2 separate regions of the Homo sapiens genome follow, and region 2 is linked to region 1. Evidence: promoter capture Hi-C in 16 types of primary human blood cells and fetal thymus (Javierre and others, 2016). All regions are on one chromosome and are shown on one strand. The core of a region is centred on a gene start or on the middle of the fragment in contact, and the rest is flanking DNA. Distances in the headings are between cores, read along the strand shown. Region 1 holds the start of CCDC43 (coiled-coil domain containing 43). Region 2 holds the start of ATXN7L3 (ataxin 7 like 3).

Region 1 (4,308 bases), core at 868-3,367:
TGCCATATTTCTTACATTTGTATCTGTGCCATTCATTTAGTGTCCATTCATTTACATAATCCCAATGCCACTAAGGGTAGACCTCTGCAATAAGAGGACCTCTGCAAGGTATACAAACTCCTTTCCTTCTTTTTTTGTTGTTATCCCCTGAATATCTTCTATTTGAATCCTGTAGCTCAAGCCATACATGACTCTCTGGAGGCCCCCTAGCAAGCCTTTGAATTCACAGTTCCCCTGCATCTGGATCTACCCCCTTTTTCCCTCCAGTCCCTTTATGTAAAGAACTCCTACCATTCTTCAAGAAAGTTCAAGCATCATCTCCACTGGGAAGCCTTCCTGGATTTCCTATGAACCTCTCCCCACCTGCTTCCAACTCCACTCCAACAGGTAAAGTTAACTCAATCTTCTAGGCATCCTACTGCAATCTCCGCTAGATAAAGCTCCATTAAAACATTTATATCACTATATTGTCATCATTTGTTTAAACATGTCTGTTCCTAATGGATTAAAAACCCCTGAGGACATATATTTTGTGACATTCATTTTTGTGTTTTCAGTGCCAGCAACAATGCCATACTGAAGGTACTCAGTACATATTTGAGGAAGGAGTTAGCCAGGACCTTGCCAGCTTCCTCTGCACTTCAGCTAAAGCCAACCAAATTCTTGGGTAATTCATTCCAGCCCAGAGCCAGGTGTTTTGACGTCAGCTGAAGCTCTCATAACTCTGCCAAAGAAGAGTTCTTGCCACTGGTTAGGCGCCCTCTAGTTGTGTGACTCTCTCCATATCTGTCTCCTTATCTTTAGTGATTTTGTTTGTTCGTTTGTTTGTTTGTTTTTGAGATGGAGTCTCACTGTCGCTCAGGCTGGAGTGCAGCGGCGCGATCTTGGCTCACTGCAACCTCCGCCTTCCGGGTTCCAGCGATTCTGAGTAGCTGGGATTACAGGCCCGCGCCACCACACCTGGCTTTTGTTGTTGTTGTTGTTTGTTTTGAGACGGAATTTCGCTCTTGTTGCCCAGGCTGGAGTGCAATGGCACGATCTCTGCTCACCGCAACCTCCGCCTCCTGGGTTCAAGCGATTCTCCTGCCTCAGCCTCCCACGTAGCTGGGATTACAGGCATGTCCCACCACGCCCGGCTAATTTTGTATTTTTAGTAGAGACGGGGGTTCTCCATTTTGGTCAGGCTAGTCTCGAACTCCAGACCTCAGGTGAGCTGCCCACTTTGGCCTTCCAAAGTGCTGGGATTACGGGAGTGAGCCACCGTGCCCGGCCTTATTTTTGTATTTTTACTAGAGACGGGGTTTCACCATGTCGGCCAGGCTGGTCTCGAACTCCTGACCTCAGGTGATCCACCCGCCTCGGCTTCCCAAACTGTTGGGATTACAGGCGTGAGACATGGCGCCCGGCCTGTCTCCTTATCTTTAAAATGTGGACAATAAAAGCATCTCCCCACAGGGCTGTAGGGAGGATTACAAGAGATAATGCATGAAAAGCTTTTGGCACAGTGCCTAGCAGAGGGTGGGGTACGCTTCTCAAAGAATAGTCCCGTGCACGCGTTGAATCAATGAGTGGAAGAAATAACTTGAGGTTGCCTGTTTATTTACTGAGTGCCTACCATGGAATCAGGGAAGGTTTTCTGCAACCTTTACTTTGACAGGGAAGGGCTTGTACAGGTGAAGGTGGTAGCCGTCGGTAGCGACGACGAGGGTATTCCAGGCTGTCAGGAGGTTCTTGCCAGACAGCTGTGTGGGAGTGGGCGGCCAGCATCCCCCGAAAGCGCGGGGAAGGCAGCTCGGTCGGGTGGAGGAAGCGATGGCATCCACGCTGAGCTCCAGTCCTGGGTAGTTATTAGCCGCGTGACTTTGGCCAAATTACTGCACCTCTCTCAACTTCCCGAACTGTAGAATGAGTCTGTTAAGAATACTCACATGCCAAGCATCTTGTGAGATCACGCGACCGCACGTATGCGAAGACGCGCTTCATCTAGAAAGCACAAAACTCTCAAGCCGGCCGACACGGCTGCGCTCTTTGCACTTACGGGCCTGGGCTTCCTCTTCAGGCATGCGCGGTGGACCTGCGGCGCGGCCCGTCAGGCACTGCGGTAGGCGCCCTAGGGGCTTGCAGGACCCTGACCCCAAGATGGCGGCGCCCAGCGAAGTGGCCGCGATAGCCCCTGGCGAAGGCGATGGCGGAGGCGGCGGCTTTGGCTCCTGGCTGGACGGACGGTTGGAGGCACTGGGAGTGGACCGAGCCGTTTATGGAGCCTACATCTTGGGTATCCTGCAGGAGGAGGAGGAAGAAGAGAAGCTGGACGCTCTGCAGGGGATCCTCTCTGCTTTCCTGGTGAGTAGCCTGGACACATTCCTTCAGCCTCTGGCCAGCATCTGAGGACCTGTCAGTACTTTGCACCCTCCCTCCCCTACCGGGTATCCCAGAGGCTCAGTGGTCTCACCTGGGAGAGGTATACTCCTCTGATATCTGGGCGGCGGGGGAAGGAGGTTGCTCCCCAACCAGGTGTGGGAAGCCTGAAAGCTGCAGGTACACAGAGAGGAAGGGCTTTCTCGTATTCTTGGGGACAAGGCCCTCTCCGATGCTTGTGAGTGAGCCGAGGAGGGTTCTTCCGAAGGCATTGAAATGTCAGAATGGGAATGTTATCATAAATATCTGACGACCAATTCCATTTCCATCCGTTTACAGTGTTCACTGGGGGTATTAAAATGCTCTTGGGAGGTCTGTGCCTATTACAAGGCAGTTCCCAGGGCTGTCCCATGACAGAAGCCTGCAGGAAGTGCCCTTTTGATTCTTATATGGATGTAGGAGTCCATAAAAGGTAAGCTGGTGGTAGAAGTCTTTTCATGCCCACGCAGAACTGAAGCAAACGTCGTGCTTGATCCATTACAGTATTTACAGTAATCATTGGTGGTGGGAAGGAGGGTATGAGAGAGATCAGAGCTTTAACGAAGAGAGAGAAACTTAGTCCTTAGCCTGTTAGAAGCAAGGTATTCAGAAATGTGTACTTTAAGCTATGTTTACATAGTAAGTCACCCAGATGTCCACTTTTTCAACCTGATCATTTCTGCTGCCTTCATCTTCACTTCCCACACCTCCAACATACACACTTATTAGACTGGTTATTACAGATTAAATTGGTTGTAGGTGCTACCTGTGGCTGTCTAACAAATTGTTTCCTTTTAAATACAAGCTTAAAAATAAAATTTACTTGAATCATCACTAAATGCTGTAGAAGCTAGAGTTGTCTCTGCATTCATGGATTAGAGGAGATCCTGGATACCTGATTGCTACTGTGAGAGCCACCTGTCTGTCCATCAAAGGCTTTATCCTCTGGCATTTATTACAATGGACAGGTTAGAAAAATGGGTTCTTTGTTATTCTCAAAACCAATTTTGAAAGGCTAGTAATAGAATCAAAATGTACCATGAGGTGGGGCACAGTGGCTCATGTTTGTAATCTCACCACTTTGGGAGGCTGAGGTGGGAGGATTGCTTGAGGCCAAGAGTTCCACACCACACTGGGCAACATAGCAAGACCCTGTCTCTACAAAAAAATTTAAAAAATTAGCCAGGTATGGTGGCGCATACCTGTAGTCCCAGCTACTCAGAAGTCTGAAGTGGGAGGATCACTTGAGCCTAGGAGGCTGTGGCTGCAGTGAGCCGTGATTGTGCCACTGCACTCCAGCTTGGGTGACAGAGTGACCCTGTCTCAAAGAAAAAAAAATTAGTATAAATATATATAGATATAAATGTACATATTCATATCTCATTTTTTTAAAAGGGTAGAAGGCAGAAACATTTTCAAATCCAAAAGTGTTTTGTGAAAGCGGAAACAAGTGCTAGGAAAAAATCACTCACATTTGGTGGAAGCAGTTCATAGATTGGGTACATGGTTGAAATATAACACTAGTGCAGCTGTCCCAGATTCTTCTGGCAGTAACCCATTTGAGTTCCAGAGCCTCTTCTGGCAAGATTGGCTTATAAATGGGAAAACTTTAACACAGCCTGTGAGGAAGCTTGGAAGTTCACTGGAAATACAAGACAGTGGAATCAATTCTTTTTTTGGACCACAACATTACAGATTATAGGGAGAAAGAGTAGGAGGCAAGCAATTTAAGGTAGTTTTTATTTACAGCTGGGAAGTTTCTAAACACTCCATGAAGCTGTTGAAATAACTTTGAGACTTCTTGGTACCAGCTTCTTGATCAGTCCATCATTATTTGGAGCTGTTTCTGTTGATAAAGGTAGACATTAGTTTGCCTTTTTTTTTTTTTAAGAGAGTCTCGCTCTGTTATAG
Region 2 (4,308 bases), core at 1,762-4,261, 490 kb after region 1:
ACAGAATGAATAGTACAGTCTAGTTGTAAAGAAGTTTGGTATGAGGATGGCCATGGGTGGGGATATGAGGAAGGATTTAGGTAAACAGGGAGAAGCCAGGAGGATTTTCTGGCCATGGCGCAAATTCCTTAGGGCAGAATGTACTGGGCATATTTAGGTAAGAAACAGATCAGCATCACTGGAGTGAAGAATTCCTGAAAAGGAGGCGGGAGATAAGAGAAAACAAAGGTTGAGGCGATGTTGTTGAAGTTCCTGAAGACCTAGCTTACTTCTCTGTGCCAGACCTGAGTTCAACCACCTTTTGGGTCTCCATCAGCTGATCCCACAGTAACCTCAATATATCCCAGACTGAAGTCATCCTGTGTCCTCCCATGTCCTCCCCTGAGTTCCCCATCCTAGTAAAGGTGTTTTCAAGACCTCCCTCTCCTTTCCTCCACACACCTCAATCAGTAACAAAAACCTACTGCTTTTGCCAGGCCCAGTGGTTTATGCCTGTAATCCCAGCATTTGGGAGGCTGAGGCAGGCGGATCTCCTGAGGTCAGAAGTTCGAGACCAGCCTGGCCAACATGGTGCAACCCTGTCTGTACTAAAAATACAAAACTAAAATTAGCCGAGCGTGGTGGCGTGCGCCAGTAATCCCAGCTATTCAGGAGGCTGAGGCATGAGAATCACTTGAACCCGGGACGCAGAAGTTGCCGTGAGCTGAGATTGCACCTGAGTGACAGAGCAAAATGCTGTCTAAAAAAACAAAACAAAACAAAACAAAAAACCTACTGCTTCTAAATTATTCTCCAGACCATACTCCAGCATGATCCACTAAAAATATAAGTCTGGTGAATGATTCCCCTTGAGGACTCCTCACAGCTTACAGGCTAAAGCCCACAAACTTTTCAACACCTACTTTGCTTTGTCCTGTATTATCCAGCCTGCTCACCTCCTGCTGCTCTGCCACCCACTCCTCTGTTCCAGCTTGATCCATGCTTCTGAAGCTTCCAGTTGGGGATGTCCAATGCCTTCTTGGCCTACCTTCACCTGGTTCATCTCCCTCTATAAGAAGTTTTTCTTTTTCTTCTTTTTTGTTTTGTTTTGAGACGGAGTCTCGCTCAGTTGCCCAGGCTGGAGTGCAGTGGCGCAATCTCAGCTCACTGCAACCTCCGCCTCCCGGGTTCAAGCGATTCTCCTGCCCAAGCCTCCCGAGTAGCTGGATTACTACTATTGCCTAAGCCTCCCGAGTAGCTCCTGGGATTACAGGAGCCCGCCACCACGCCCAGCTAATTTTTGCATTTTTGCAGGCTGGTCTCGAACTCCTGGCCTCCCAAAGTGCTGGGATTACAGGCCTGGGCCACCGCACCCTGCCCAAGAAGCCTTTCTTGACCAACTCTCTTACATCATTTGATGTCTCCTTTTGTCTACCTCTGTTTTCTCTCTGTTGTTTTCCTCACACTGTTTTGCAATTATTATCCTACCTATCTATCCACAAGACAGTGAACTTCTTGAAGAAGCACAACTGTCTTATATCATCTTTTATCCCAGCACCTGGAGCACCGTGAGAATAACAGCTAAGATTTACCAAGCACTTACACAGAGCTAAGAGTTTCACATGCACTGACTTGTTAATCACTACAGCAACGCAAGGAGATAGGACTATCATTATGCCCACTGACAACAGAGGAAACTGAGGCACAGGAAACTCATTTGCTAGGCCCAACGATTTAAATTCAAATCAGACGCCTGATCTGAACTACTCTGGAATATCGCCTCAATAAATGTTTGCTGTTTCTCGGGAGAAATCGGTGAGAAAAAAATAAGTATTTGCTGAAAACTAAAAACCAAAGATGGCTCCAAGTATGTGATTACAGACTATCCTCCTTTTTAATCTTATCTCTTGAGGGGAGAGGGCTGTCACACAACCGTTCCAGGACACCACACACAGAGTAACCGAGATGAAAGCGCCAATCCAGCCATCCACCGCGGCTGGGAAAAGGCCTGTCCCTTCCTAAGGTAAAGAGGGACTGAGAGCGTGAGCACAGGGACACGCTGCACCCAGGGGAACAGCACTGGGTCGGGGGAAGGATCTGGCCAGTGACAAGGAGGCTGTCTGGAGGGGTGGGGGTCCAGCGTGGGTTCCGGAAGCAGGAAAGGCGAGCAGGTGTGGGATCTAAATTAGGACGAGGGGCGGGGAGGGCGCTCCGCGCAGAAGGGCGCAGCTCGGCCTCCGACCTCAGCAGCGGACCCTCATCTCGGCCGCTTGTTGGTCCGCAAGCCTGGAGTGGGCTGAGACCCGCCCAGAAACCGGGAGAACTGAGGCGCGGGCGAGCCCCTTAGGCTCCACAGGCTTTCCGCCCCGAGGTCCTAACTGCGCCCCACTTCAAGTCTGGCCTCTTCACAGAAGTGGCTGCACGCCTCGGGGTAAAGGGGGGAGCGGAGGGTGGCGGGGGAGAGAGCGGGGAGCCCCGAGGGAAGGGCGGGGGAGCCTGGGCCGGAAGGCGTCCCAGGCTCGGCTGGCAGCCGGCGCTCTCTTTCGACGCCACCCGCTGCCCCCGCCCCCGAGCCGGCCGGGACGGCAAAACGTCTCCGCCCCCAGCGCACCGCGCACCTCACCTTGAACGCCGCCCCACCCACCCCCATCTTATTGGTCCTCCCGGGCCGAGGCCTCCCTGCGATTGGTCGGGGAGGTCCGCGAAGGCCCCGCCCATCTCTCCGCCCCCGTCCCCGTCCGCCGGTACTTTGGACGGCGGCGTGGCGCCCCTCCTCCCCTCCCGGTCCCCGCCCCCTGGAGCAAATGCTGCCGAGCTGCGGCCGCGGGGCAGATGCACGCGCTCGGGCCCTTCTAGCAGGCGCGAGCAGTCGCTGGGCGCGCGAAAGCGAAAGAAGGAAGAGGAAGGGAGGGGGAGGGCGGGGTGTTGGGGAGGGGCGGGAGGAGGAAGAGGAGGAGGTTGGAGCGCGCTCGCGCTTGGCCTCGCGCCCGCGCAGAGGGAGGGGGAGAGGGGCGCGCGCGCGCACGCTCGCGTTCACGCTCGCTCCATCCATCCATCCTCCGGTCGCGGCACACGCGCGCGCGCTCCGGGCTCGCGCCGCACCCCCCGCCCGGGAGAGGCGGGCTGGAGTGGGGGGCGGGGGGAGGGGCGCGCGGACGGCGCGCGGACTGCGCGCGGGCGGGGTGAGGTGAGGAGGAGGAGGCGGCGACGGGACAAGAAGGGAGGGGAAGGGGCCATGGCCGCCCGGTGAGGCGGCCAGGCGGGGGGGCGGCCCGACCCCCCGGCCCCGGGCCCTGGGCCCCGGGGAGAGGCGAGGACGGACCGACGGACATGGGGCTCCGGAGCAGCCGCCGCCGTCGCCGCCGCCGGAGGACGCGGCCCTGAGAGGCTGCCGGGCCCCGGCGCGGCCCCCCGGGCGGGGTGAGTACGGGACGGAGACGGGGACGGGGACGGGGGAGGGGCCTGTGGGGGGCGGGGGGCGGGGCCCAAGGCGGGGCTTGGGCCCCCTCCCCCCAGGTCTGGGTCAGCGCCCCTTCCCCTCCCCCCGGGCCGACGCGGAAACGCCCGGCTTCCCCCAGCTTCCCGGCCGGGCCGGGGCCCCTGGCTCTCCCCCGTCTGGGTCCCCCTTGGGCGGGGCAGGGCCGGCCGGGGAGGGGGCGCGGGGCCTTTGTTAGGGAGCCAGGCCCCAGCCCCCGGGACAATAGAGACACCCTCCCGGACTCCTCTCCCCGGCCGGCCGGGGCTGCTGGCGGGCGGGGAAGGAGAGGGGCTGGGACGCGTCCCACTCTCTGGGGGTCGGTCTGTCCCGGCCCGGCGCCGGCCCCGGCGGCTCGGCTGTCCTCCCCCCAGTCGGTATGATGCAGCAGCAGTGCCGCAGGGACGGGGGAAGAGCCGAGGCCCGGCCTCCTACCCTTCCCAGTGCCCCCGGCTCATTCGTCAGTCCCCACCCCACTCTAGGCCGGCAGCTCCTGAAACTCGTACCCACCGTTCCGAGGGGCCCTGGGTTGTGGGTTCTGTGTCTGAATCCTTGGGTGGGGGTTCCTGGACTTTGGGGCTCTTGGAGAGACTTCCGGGCTGGTCCTGAGGGAGGGCGGGTGGTTATTTAAAGGAAGAACAGGTAAGGGGAGTGCCCGCTCCTGGCGTGCCACCCTACCAGGCTCTTCCCCCCCACCCCCCGCCGTTCCTGCTCATGGTGGCTAGAAATGTCCCTTAGCTCTAGGCTCCTGTGGGCTCTGCTCCCCTCGTGGAGTGGCAGGCTGATTTCAAGGGAAGACAGAGTGGGGTGAAGGTTGTAGGGTCCTAGGGCCATTTCTACTTCTGGTAGCAGTA

What was found. The method cuts DNA at HindIII sites, captures the fragments that hold promoters and counts their contacts. A CHiCAGO score of 5 or more calls a contact.
Region 2: the fragment with the promoter of ATXN7L3 here is called in contact with the fragment with the promoter of CCDC43 in region 1 in 2 of 17 cell types (M2 macrophages and M0 macrophages); the score reaches 5.9 in M2 macrophages.

Annotation. Positions count from the first base shown.
Region 1 is chr17:44,687,585-44,691,892 of GRCh38, reverse strand. It overlaps CCDC43 (coiled-coil domain containing 43), which reads left to right and starts at 2,117. Exons shown (of 5, transcript NM_144609.3): 1 at 2,117-2,343. The coding sequence starts at 2,140. It overlaps LOC105371792 (a long non-coding RNA gene), which reads right to left. Exons shown (of 4, transcript XR_007065769.1): 2 at 3,870-4,039; 3 at 3,600-3,715; 4 at 2,880-2,952. It overlaps LOC124904010 (a long non-coding RNA gene), which reads right to left and starts at 2,112. Exons shown (of 2, transcript XR_007065770.1): 1 at 2,039-2,112; 2 at 1,583-1,898. RefSeq lists enhancers at 1,987-2,126, 1,795-2,384. The HindIII fragment of the contact is 1,709 bases long and covers 1,496-3,204 here.
Region 2 is chr17:44,198,587-44,202,894 of GRCh38, reverse strand. It overlaps ATXN7L3 (ataxin 7 like 3), which reads left to right and starts at 3,011. Exons shown (of 13, transcript NM_001382309.1): 1 at 3,011-3,399. It overlaps ATXN7L3-AS1 (ATXN7L3 antisense RNA 1), which reads right to left and starts at 4,055. Exons shown (of 2, transcript NR_184071.1): 1 at 3,965-4,055. RefSeq lists enhancers at 1,632-2,169, 2,170-2,708, 3,434-3,989, 4,194-4,308 and silencers at 2,363-3,162, 3,263-3,872. The HindIII fragment of the contact is 7,751 bases long and covers 993-4,308 here.